Regions from separate parts of the Homo sapiens genome. Here regions 1, 3 and 4 are each linked to region 2. The links are contacts of gene promoters, found by promoter capture Hi-C in human tissues and cell types (Jung and others, 2019). All regions are on one chromosome and are shown on one strand. The core of a region is centred on a gene start or on the middle of the fragment in contact, and the rest is flanking DNA. Distances in the headings are between cores, read along the strand shown. Region 1 overlaps SYNJ1 (synaptojanin 1). Region 2 holds the start of EVA1C (eva-1 homolog C). Region 3 overlaps PAXBP1 (PAX3 and PAX7 binding protein 1). Region 4 overlaps EPCIP-AS1 (EPCIP antisense RNA 1).

Region 1 (2,874 bases), core at 66-2,565, 300 kb before region 2:
TTCCGGTGACCCAATATACATGAATATGTGGATCCCAGAAAGAAGTTGGTAGGGAAGAAAAACACTTGAAGAAATAATAGCTGGCACTTTTGCAAATTTCATGAAAGCTATGAATCCACATATCCAAGAAGCTAAATGAACATAAAGCAGAACACTATACCCAAATACATGATCAAGTTACTGTTTACCAGTGATACAGAGAAGATCTTAAAAGTAGCCCAAGGAAGAAAAGACACACATTTACAGAAGAGTGAAGATAAGAATGATAGTAGACTTTTCTTTGCAAGCAATCCAAGCCAGAGGACATTGGGAACATCTTTAAAGTACTGGAAGGAAGAAACCAAACCAAACCATTCACCTAGAGTTTTGTACCCAACCACAAATGAAGATGTAAAGACTTTTCAGACATTCGAAGGTTGAAAAAATATGAGCTAATTATAATGACTAGCAGTTTAATATTGTAGTATTACCTTTCTTAGTATCCAATACCAACATTTTCAAAACTTTTGAGATTATAAAGTCTGAATCAGTGAAATTTTGAAAGAAGCATACAAAGTGAAAGAAGCAATAAAGAGTGGAATGGGCTAGTGCAATTGTTTAGCCTTGTTAGAGTATCAAAAGGAAGTATAGTTTTAAAAATTGTGCATGATTTTTACTGGTGACAATTAAAATTTGCTTTGAGTGTTTTAATGGTTGTTAATAAGAATTTGTATTTTATCTTTTTCCAGCTTAAATAGAGTTTATAAATATAAGCCATTGCTGATCAGTAGTGTTACGTATGTGAGCACATGCATTCACATTGGGTTGCATTTCATAGCTACTGAACCAAATGATGAATGATTTGGCACTTGGAGAAAATAAATTTGGCATTTGGAGAGATATATAAATTCTTCTTGGTTGGATACTCATTACTTCCTCAGTTCAGAATGAAAAAATTTTAGACCCTTGAAATTCCTGGATAATTCTGGGCCAACTGAGTCAGTGAAAAGAAAAAAATTAAAAAAAAACTTTATTGTCTCAAAACATTAAATATTTCTATATGTTAAATGTACTTATTAAAATTTTGTGTTTCTATTTCATTATAGTCTTATTTAACTTTTTATATATAAAGGTGTGTTTACTTATATAACTAGCTCTTAGCAATAAATATTTATTATGAGTTATGTTTCATTCTGTTCACTAGTGGACCATAGGATTGCTGTAATCTCTTGAATGTGTTGCTGAAATATAGATAAACAAAATCATTTAATATCCTGTGGACCATGTGTGAACTATAAGTAGAATGAATCTTCTTTTTTCAATTTTTTTTTTTTTTGAGACAGAGTCTCACTTTGTTGCCCAGGCTGGAGTGCAGTGGCATGATCTTGGCTCACTGTAACCTCAGCCTCCTGGGTTCAGGTGATTCTCCTGCCTCAGCATCCCGAGTAGCTGAAATTATGGGTGTGCACCACCATGCCCAGCTGATTTTTGTATCTCTTTATTAGAGACAGGTTTCACCTTACTGGCCAGGCTGGTCTCGAACTCCTGACATCAAGTGATCCACCTGCCTCAGCTCCCCAAAATGCTGGGGTTACAGGCGTGAGCCACCGTGCCCGGCCTCTTTTTGTTTTTATTTTTAAATTCCAGAATCTTATAATTAAATAAATTTCTAGCTGGTTGTACCTTAGTGCTCATTAGTTGTCTTTCCTTGGTTAGCATTGGGAATATATCTTTGGCCTATCTTGTTCCCAGTTTTATCAATTCTCTTAGAGAATGGAGTAGAAAGTACAGTTTTCAGATTTTTAGTTGTGGCAAAGTGACGTAGGATTGATGAGAGCTGGGTTGAATAATTATGTTGGATGACACAATTGAGATCCAGCTTTTTGAAACTCAGATAATGGGTTAGAACCCACAAAAGGAAAATGCACTTCCCCTTGCACCGGATTGAGTGTTTGTGTATTCCTGAACCAAAAATGACTGTTGAGATATCATGTGCTGTTTGCATCAGGTAGATCATTGGCAGAAGAAGGTAGAAATTTCTGTGATTTCCATAGTATCACAAACTGTTTGGTGGCTACCAAATGAGGAAGAGTTGGAATAGGTACCGTATTGATGGTCTTACCAACCACTGCATATCCTCAAACCTGATCTTTCCTTCAGTCTCCCTTATGTCAATGGATTGCACTCCATCTACCAAGTTGTTTCAAACAACTTAAGAATCATCCTCAACACCTCTTCCCCTCACATTTCACACATTCTCTCTATTACCAAGTCTAGTCAATTCCTCCTCTTAATTTCCTTGAGATTCCATGCAACTGCCTGCATTTAGCTGGCTCTGTTTCAATCAAGACACTGTTGTCTCTTTCATGGATCATTACAATTCCCTCCTTAACTGGTCCCTCTGCTTCTACTTACCACGCCTACACCCCAGTCTTTTAAAAAACATGGTTTAGATCTTATTAATCCCCTGCCTAATACTCTTCAGTGATTGGCCACTGAAGTTAAAATCTAAACTCTAAGATGACCTACAATAAAATCGAGTTTCTGCTTCCCTCTTCAACCTGTTACCACTTTACCTCTTGGTTTCTATGTTCTAACCTCATTGGCCGCCTTTCAGTTCTGAATGTACCAAATTCTTTCTGGCGTCAGGGTCTTTACATATGCTGTTCCGTCTGCTCAAATGTATTTTTTTAAAATAATAAGCTTTTTAAATTATAATACATGTAGAAAAGTATATAAATCTTAAACATACAGCTTGATATATTATTATAGAATGAACATACCCTTATTACCACAACTGGGTTGAGAAATAGAATATTATTACTAGCATACCAGAGAGCTTTCCAGAGAATAATCCCCTCATGCTCCTTCCCAGTTATCTTTATTATGATCTGC
Region 2 (2,887 bases), core at 262-2,761:
GGGTGGCTTGCCAAATAGGCCTTATCTTGGCTTCCTTTGCTAGGTAGGAATACTGCCTTGATATTACATATTCAAAGCAAAGAACCTCTGACCTAAGGGCTCTCCACTAACAATGACATTCTCTGTAAGTAAACTAGAACCCCATCTCAACTTCTGGTTTGCCCTTGTTCTTTGCTATGTACTAGCCTACTGCACAAACAGGACTGAGGAGGACTCCCTTTACCACCATTATGTTGCAAAAGACTCTGCACTGAGGACCCGATAGGGACCGACTGTGCAAAGCCTGAACTTGGCAGAAGATCCCTGGAGAAGGAGGAGTATGGGGCTCAGAGCTGCTCCCTAAGCTGGGCTGGGGAAGGCTGAAGGCCTCCAGCCTTGCCAGAGGGAGATCCAGGTGTGCTTCAGCGGCAAGGACATGTGTTACCTTAAGCAACTGCAGCGCTAACTTAAGCATGTGCTCCTATGGCTATCGTCAACCTAGAAATCCCTTTCACTTTGGGGCGTCACACCTGTAAGCTCAGAACTATCTGAGATCCGCTGCGAGAGCCTGGATCACGATTCCCAAAAAGAAAAGCCTCCTAGTTTATTCGAGAGTAGGAAGTCATTATTTTCTGTGAAGGAAACTGGAATTGGAGAGGGAGGACCCTGGTACACTTTGGCAGAGAGGCTCCTCTCTCTTATCTAAGTATCTCCTCATCCCTCACTGCCTTTCCACCAGACCTCCAGTCCCCGCGGGCTTCCCTTTCTACCTGCCAATGTGGACTCGAGGTCAAGTGTCCCCTGGGCTAGTCTCCTTACATGGGCAAACGGGCTACGCGGGTGACAAACGCGGCGCAACGCCTCCGACCACAACACGTGTATTTTACAGCGCTGGGCGCGGCACAGGGCTCAGTTTAAGGAGCCTCCATAGAACGAGCGTGGCTCAGGACCAGGTCCCTAATGCTAGGAAATTGACGAGGTCAACAGCAGGGCGAGAAACTCTGAATACATTACACACCCTTCCTTCTTGGGAGTGGCAGTCCCCCGTCGCCACTTCACTCGCAGCCATCTATATGCCAAGGGCTCACACCAGACAAGTGTCTGTGAGCACGCCTCAACTTTAATCCTACCCCGCCGTGTCCACTGGTGCGGCTGCCCCCAGTCGAGGGTTCACCTGGGCGCTCCGCGGTGCCGGGGGCACACAGCCAGGGAGGGCGCTCTTACCAGAGAAGTCGGTGAGCGCTGAGATCTCTTTGGAGCAGACCAGGACAGTGCAGTAGAAGAGGCGCAGGAGCTGCCCCGGCGGCTCTACCTGCCGGCGGAGGCCGGGATGCTGCACGGGCTGGGGCGTCGGCGGTTGGCGTGCGCGTCCCGGCAGAAGCATCGTGCGCTGCGCGGCGGGGCGGAGGCGCAGGCCCGGGACGCGCTGGGGGTCGCAGGGCTAAGGACGGCGTCACATGGCGGGGAGAATCGATGGCCAGCGGCTCCGCGGCCCCCCGCCGCCTCCCTGCCCAGGCTGCCAGAGCCTCCTCCCCTGCGCGGGCCAGCCCAGGCGCCCCAGCAAAGGGGAGGGGGCGGAGAACTGGGGCGGGGCGAGGATCCCCGAAAAGGATCCGCGTAGTTTCCCCGAGAGGAAATCTCCGTTGCCGCCGTGCCGGAGGAAGCGAGGGGGGCCGTAGGGAAAGCGCAGCCTTCGCGCGCCCCGCGGCTGCCCAGGCCGATCCCTGGCGCGCTGCCCACCGCGGAGGGCGCCCCCAGTAGCGCGCCCCGGGCCGCGCACCTTGAGCGCCTTCCACACCCGGGAAACAGCCGGGCACCCGTGGCCCTGCCCGCGCTGGCCGGGTGCCAGCCTCGCCCTGGCGGCAGAAGGAGCGCGGCCGGTGCCCGTGACGCACTTTGGAGCCAGCGCCGCGCGTGCAGCTGGGGCGCCCCCGGGGCGGGGCCGATCGGGGGCCGCAGGAAGGTGGGGTCCTGGAGGCGTGGGATCGCACCGCTGCCATCCCCGCCACCCGCCGCGCGCCACGTGCAGTCACCCGGCACATACAGTTATCGCCATTCCACAGAAGAGGAGACTGAGCCCCGGCGCCGTGCCCAAGCTCTCGCAGCCAGGACGGCGACGAGCTGGAGGTCTCAAAACCGGTCAGATGGCTCCGGAGCCGGGATCTTTAGCTCCAGCTCGGCTTCCTTTGGGTGCTGGTTGTCCGCAGCGCTGGGGGATCTGACACTGCACCGGCGCAAACAGCCGCCGAGCGCTAATAATTGGGCTTTGTTTTAAAGTGGGCCACAGCATCTTTCTGAACCTCTAGACTGTGCGCGGGGTGACCCACGTTCGGACGCCCAGCCAGTGGCCTAGGAGTGGCCTGCGTAGCCCCAACTCAAGGGTATCGAGGACAAGTGCGCGAGGGGCTCCGTGGCTGCTTGCCGGGTGCGGGTACCTGGCGCCCAGCGACCCAAACCCTATGGATCGCGCGGGGCCGGCGGAAGGGAGGAGGGCGGGCGCTAGGCACACAGTGTTCCCGAACCCGGCGGGAGGGCCTGCCAAGTTCGCGGCGGGCGTGACGCGGAAACGTAGATAATGAGGCCCAGGGCGGGGCCGGACGCACTGCCCCGCGGGCTCCAGAGCTGCGAACGCCCCAGAGTGTGCAGGGAGGCCTGCAGAAAGAAAATGCGGCTGAGGGTCCCCGTGGGACCCACTCAGAGGTGGGCCGTAAAGATCCCGGAAGGGTGGATGGCATTAGATACCACCTAGTACTCCAGCAAGGGCTGGGTCACCGAATTGGGATCTCGGCCTCTTCTTCCAGTCTGGGGAAAAGTGTGTTAAATGCTAAACATCAGTGTTTATCGAGTGAGGCCCAGCCTGTCTGGCATAATGATTTTTAAAATCTACATTCAAATATTAAATAAAAAC
Region 3 (3,070 bases), core at 23-2,522, 320 kb before region 2:
AGTAAAACTCCTTGCAAGTGTTCGAGCTTTGGATCATGCTATGTCTGTTGCAAGTGACCACAATGTGAAAGAATTTAAGTCTTTGATCGAAGGAAAATAGATCTATGAGACTGAAAAACCTATTTGCTTGATTACCATTCCCAATGTGTAAATTTTGTATATATGTAAAGTTTCTTAAACTGTAAAATAGCAATTCTTGTTTTAATACAAAAAACATTATATTCAATACTGTGTCCTTAAATGATATTTCTTCAGAATGAAAGGAATTCAGATTATTTCTAGGAGTCTATGAATGTTTTCTTTACTGCCTGTCATACTTTGTTTACTGAAGTATTTTGTATGGTCATTTAAATTAACCCTCTCAGTTAATTGTCCCCTGTAAACGATGTGTGCAGTGTAAATTGTGTAATTATGCATATATATATTTATACCACCATGGACTTACTTTCACACTGGAAATTTGTGGTGTTTTTCCACAGAGGAAGCCTTTTAACAGCAGAAAATTATCCGGTAGCAAATTGTCTTAGGGAAATTACTACACTGTTGTAACAAAAGGGCTGGCAAGTGACTAAATGTTCATTACCTTTTGGTTAGCGTTGCTATCACTGTAGCTGTGCTGCCTTAACATTGAGAGTTGAGTTGTGGACTTAGTCATTGAGTGAATGTTGAACTTTCTTCCTTGAATCAGCGTTAGAGTCAAATGTGGGTTTAATGTGAATGCTAAATGAATATGCAACATAGTTTCAAATGGAACATAGAAATTTCACTTTTGAAAATAATAAACCCACAACCTAATTGCATGGTTTTGGGCTGACCGTCCTGTCTCATTCATGATTTTACTCCCTGCCCAGCTTGCAGATACATGCATTTGAATTTTAGTAGTCTGTCATATTTAAAATCCCACATATGTGAGTTAAATATGCAATAAAGAATACGCCTTGCTGATTAGCCACACCCAGGCAATTTAATATCCATGGTCTTCTATAATGTTTATACCACATTGTAAATATTCAGAGAACTTGTTTTAAAGTTTATGCTTTCTGATTCTGTGATTTTCAAAAGAGGAATTTTTTTGGAAATTAAGGACTATCGTTTGATAATTATATATGTAATTAAGATTTAGCCAAGCATTAAATTAATTTTTAAATATATCCTTTGTTGTATTTTCCTGACGACTAAATTTGCAGCATTTCAAATGACTCTAATAAAGTGGGACTGTGAGCAGGCCCATGTGTACCCTTGATCAGGACATAATATGCAGAACAGTGTCATGCACTGTATTTGCTCTGTTAATTTTATCTTATCCCTACATATTTGTATTAGTTCATTCTCACGCTGTTATAGGGACATACTTGAGACTAGGTAATTTATAAAGAGGTTTAATTGACTCACAGTTCCGCATGGGTGGGAAGGCCTCAGGAAACTTACAATCTTGACGAAAGGCACGTCTTCACAGGGTGGCTGCAGAGAGAAATGAGTGCTGAGGGAAGGGGGAAGTCCCTTATGAAGCCATGAGATTTCATGAGAACTCAGGAGAACAGCATGGCGGAAACCACCCCCCATGATTCAGTTATCTCCACCTGGTCCCGCCCTTGATGTGGGGATTATTACAATTCAAGGTGAGATTTGGGTGGGGACACAGAACCAAACCAAATCAGTATTCATTCTGGATGAATTTTTCATTACACCTTACTGGCCTACTAAGTAGAATTAAAGTCAGAACACCTATTCCTCATCTTAAGTAGAATAAAACATAAAACATGTATCTGTATCACATACAGATCATTTAGGCCTTAAACTGCATATTATTTCCAAACCCATTAGACTAATTACTCTGCTTTTAAGAACTCTTAAAATAGAGTTTTTATCCTATGAAATCTGTCAGGCTATATTGGTTTCAGGAATGGGTTTGAACATCACACTAGGAATTTGATGTAGGGTACATAAAACAATGGTTTTTCTATCCCAAGCAGAACATTTTTATTCCTGAAATAGCTTAAGGACATTATTTCTTATGAAAGGAATTATCAAAAGATAAATCCAGAGGGTTACATTTTAATAAAGCTGGTTTTGCTTTTCAGTTTTTTCTTTTGGAGCAATCCTCTGAATTAACTCCAAAATAGGTGACAAATGTTTTTGAGAAGGAAAGCTACTTTATTGAAACAACATAAACCACAGTCAAGAGTGACTAGTACTACTGTAGCCAATGATGTCGAAGTCTCACCATGTCCCTGTTCTTGCCACTGGTGTCCTCTTGCAAGTATTTGCTCCTCTGCCTGAGGGCTTTTCTTTGGCCTGTGCAACAGGCTGGAGTGTCCTGGAGATACTTCCTGGAACAGATCTCAGCCAAGGGAGAAAAGGAATTGGAGGCTAAATGCCCCAGTGTGTCAGTTAGGGTCCTCCTGGGAGCAGACACTGAGATGGTATTAAATGTACAGGAAGTTTATTGGGGGAATGCGTATAAGAGAAAACGGAGGGGAGCCTGGAGGAGGCTGGGAAAGCTGTCAGACAATGAGGCAGGCAGGTCTCACCTGTGTGAAGGAAGGAGGATGAAAGTCTTAGACATTGGTGCAGTTCTAAAGTTTCAGCAGGGCCAACTGGCAGCTCTGACAGGTACAACCAGGGGTCTCCTTGCTAGTATGAGATCTGAGAGACAGAATTTCCTGATGACCAAACCCAATTTGCTGATCTCTCAGGAAAGCAGGTATGGTCCACATTGCCTATAAGAGGTCTTCAGTTGAGTAGAGCCATAGTTGCCTGCAGTGGTAACATTACCAGCACCCAGAATTGGCCAAAAAATTGAAAATGCTAATAATCATCCTTGAAATCATGAAACTCTTACAAAAGTAGTCAAATGTTACAGAGCTGCAATATAAAATAGGAAACTGTAAGTTGCTACATTGTAGTGGTTGTTAATGGTTACAAGAGCTCTTCTTATCTCTAACATGGTAATACCCATGTAATAAAGGGAGTCTTGCCATTCACTGATTATGACAAAACATTTGATCTGTTGTTTCAAGTAAATGAAAATGAGAAAAACACTAGCACTACATGTAGGAAGAAAAAAACA
Region 4 (2,988 bases), core at 244-2,743, 360 kb before region 2:
AAAGCTCGTCTCTACTAAAAATTCCAAAAATAGTCATGTGTGGTGGCACGTGCCTGTAATCCCAGCTCCTCAGGAGGCTGAGGCACAAGAATCGCTTGAACTTGGAGGCAGAGATTGCACCACTGCACTCTAGCCTGGGCAACAGAGCTACACTCTGTTTCAAAAAAAAAAAAAAAAAAAGATTGCAATGGAGCTGAAAAATTCCTATCATCTAGTGACATCATAGCAATCATAATACTGTAGCACAATACATTACTCATGTGTGTGGTGATGCTGGTATTAAGAAACCTCTGTTTCAGTGGTATAAAAGTATAGCACATACAATTACATATACCACATAAAACTCCATAATGATAATAAATGACTATGTTACTGGTTTATGTATTTGCTATACCAGTAGTCCCCAACCTTTTTGACACCAGGGACTGGTTTCATAGAAGACAATTTTTCCATGAACTAGGGGGTGGAGGATGGTTTGAGGATGATTCAAATGCATTACATTTACTGTGTACTTTATTTCTATTACAATTACATTGTAATATATAATGAAATAATTATACAATTCACCATAATGTAGAATCAGTTGGAGCCCTCAGCTTGTTTTCCTGCAACCAGATGGTCCCATCTGGGGGTGATGGGAGACAGTGACAGGTCATCAGGCATTAGATTCTCATAAGGAGTGCACAAGCTAGATCCCTCATGTGCAGAGTTCACAATAGGGTTCGTGTTCCTGTAAGAATCCAATGCTGCTGCAGATCTGACAGGAGACAGAGCTCAGGTGGTAATGCGAGTGATGCAGAGTGGCTGCAAATACAGATGAAGCTTTGTTTGCTCACCCGCCGCTCACCTCCTCTTGTGCAGCTCGGTTCCTAACAGGCCACTGACTGGTACCAGTCTGTGGCCTGGAGGTTGGGGACCCCTGCTTTATCTTATTTCTCGCATATTTAGTGAGGCCTCATCAGTTGTTAAGGCCCAGCTATTTATCTTCCCCCCAAATGTATATATTGAAACACTAATCCCCAGTGTGATAGCAGAGGAGGTAGAGATGCTGGAATGTGACTAGGTCACAAAGGTGGAGCCCTTATGAATGGGATTAGTGCCCTGGTAAGAAGCTGAAGAAACCACAGTTGTCTCCCTTCCACCATGTGAGGACTCAGCTAGAAGGTACCATCTATGAACCAGGAAGCAGACCCTCACCGGAACACAAATCTGCCAGTGCCTTAACCTTGGATTTCCCAGCATCCAGAGCTGTGAGAAATAAATTTGTTGTTTATAAGTCACCCAATTAATGGTATTTTGTTGTAGCAGCCCAAATGGACTAAGACATCAGCTAATGTATATAGAATATTTTTTACATATTTATTGGCTTTGTGGCTTCTAACATTTTAAAAATAAACTTAAAAAAAGAGAGAGAACAATGTCTACCTTTGGCCACTTGCCTCCTGCAGGGGTGGGAGGTGGTTGGGGACGCCTATACTATACTTTTTACTGTTATTTTAGAGCGCACTCTTTTTACTTACAAAAAAAAAAGTTAAGTATATAAGAGCCTCAGGCAGGTCCTTCAGGAGGTATTCCAGAAAAAGATATTGTTTTTATAGGACATGATAGCTCCATGTTTGTTATTTTTCCTGAAGACCTTCCAGTGGGACAAGATGTGGAAGTGGAAGACAGTGACACTGATAATCCTGACCTTGCGTAGGCCTAGGCTGATGTGTGTGTTTGTGTCTTAGCTTTAAAGTTTAAAAAGTAAAACAAAATAATTAAAATGGTAAAAATAGAAGATATTTTTGTGCAGCTGTAAATGTGTATTTTTTTAAGCAAAGTGTTATGCCGGGCACGATGGCTCACGCCTGTAATCCCAATACTTTGGGAGGCTGAGGCAGGTGGACGACCTGAGGTCGGGAGTTTGCGACTGCCTTGACCAACATGGAGAAACCTTGTCTTTACTAAAAATACAAAATTAGTTGGGCGTGGTGGTGCATGCCTGTAATCCCGGCTACTCAGGAGGCTGAGGCAGGAGAACTTCTTGAACCCTGGATGCAGAGGTTGCGGTGAGCTGAGGTTGCACTACTGCACTCCAGCCTGGGCAACAAGAGCAAAACTCTGTCTCAAAAAAAAAAAAAAAAAAGTCAAGAAGTTTTAAAAAATGTCTGGGCACGTTGGCTCATGCCTGCAATCCCAGAACTTTGGGAGGCCGAGGTGGGCAGATTACTTGAGGTCAGGAGTTCAAGACCAGCCTGGCCAACACAGGAGCTTGTGGGGTGTGCGGATCATCTCTACTAAAAATACAAACATTAACTGGGCATGGTGGTGCACGCTTATAATCCCAGCTACTTGGGAAGCTGAGGTGGGAGGATTGCTTGAACCTGGGAGGCAGAGGTTGCAGTGAGCTGAGATCACGCCACTGCACTCCAGCCTGGGGATAGAGTGAGACTCTGTCTCATTGCTTGAACCTGGGAGGTGGAGGTTGCAGTGAGCTGAGATCGCGCCACTGCACTCCAGACTGGGTGACAGAGTGAGACTCCATCTCAAAAAACAAAAACAAAACAAAACAATAACAACAAAAAAGTTTTAAAAAATAAGAAAGCTTATAAAGTAAAAAAGTTATAGTAAGCTATTTATTATTGAAGAAAGAAATATGTTTAAACATTTAGTGTAGCCTAAGTGTACAGTTGTTTATAAAATCTACAGCAGTGTACAGTAATAACCTAGGCCTTCATATTCACTTACCACTCACTCACTGACTCACCCAGAGCAACCTCCAGTCCTGTAAGCTCCATTCCTGGTAAGTGTCCTATACAGGTGCACCATTTTTAAAGCTTTTATGCTGTATTTTTACTGTATCTTTTCTATGTTTAGATACAGATACCATTGTGTTACAAGTGCTACAGTATTCAGTACAGTAACATGCCGTATAGGTTTGTAGCCTAGAAGCAATAAGCTATGCCATACAGCCTAGGTATGTAGTAGGCTACACCACTAGGTTTG

The links. The method cuts DNA at HindIII sites, captures the fragments that hold promoters and counts their contacts. A contact is called where the count stands out against the background at its distance.
Region 1: a fragment that was not itself captured here is called in contact with the fragment with the promoter of EVA1C in region 2 in 2 of the 25 tissues and cell types used here (H1 embryonic stem cells and dorsolateral prefrontal cortex).
Region 3: a contact is called between a fragment that was not itself captured here and the fragment with the promoter of EVA1C in region 2, in 2 of the 25 tissues and cell types used here (dorsolateral prefrontal cortex and liver).
Region 4: a contact is called between a fragment that was not itself captured here and the fragment with the promoter of EVA1C in region 2, in 2 of the 25 tissues and cell types used here (dorsolateral prefrontal cortex and hippocampus).

The regions. Positions count from the first base shown.
Region 1 is chr21:32,713,915-32,716,788 of GRCh38, reverse strand. All of the region lies in intron 2 of SYNJ1 (synaptojanin 1), which reads left to right. Among named protein-coding and RNA genes, the nearest start is that of SYNJ1, 13 kb to the left of the region's middle. The HindIII fragment of the contact is 4,447 bases long and covers 1-2,874 here.
Region 2 is chr21:32,411,330-32,414,216 of GRCh38, reverse strand. EVA1C (eva-1 homolog C) reads right to left here and starts at 1,511. Exons shown (of 8, transcript NM_058187.5): 1 at 1,204-1,511. The coding sequence starts at 1,363. The HindIII fragment of the contact is 9,144 bases long and covers 1-2,887 here.
Region 3 is chr21:32,731,980-32,735,049 of GRCh38, reverse strand. PAXBP1 (PAX3 and PAX7 binding protein 1) reads left to right here. Exons shown (of 18, transcript NM_016631.4): 18 at 1-1,151. The coding sequence ends at 100. PAXBP1-AS1 (PAXBP1 antisense RNA 1) reads right to left here. Exons shown (of 4, transcript NR_038879.1): 2 at 1,393-1,461. Among named protein-coding and RNA genes, the nearest start is that of PAXBP1-AS1, 5.4 kb to the right of the region's middle. The HindIII fragment of the contact is 7,980 bases long and covers 1-3,070 here.
Region 4 is chr21:32,774,755-32,777,742 of GRCh38, reverse strand. All of the region lies in intron 1 of EPCIP-AS1 (EPCIP antisense RNA 1), which reads right to left. Among named protein-coding and RNA genes, the nearest start is that of EPCIP-AS1, 4.1 kb to the right of the region's middle. The HindIII fragment of the contact is 6,384 bases long and covers 1-2,988 here.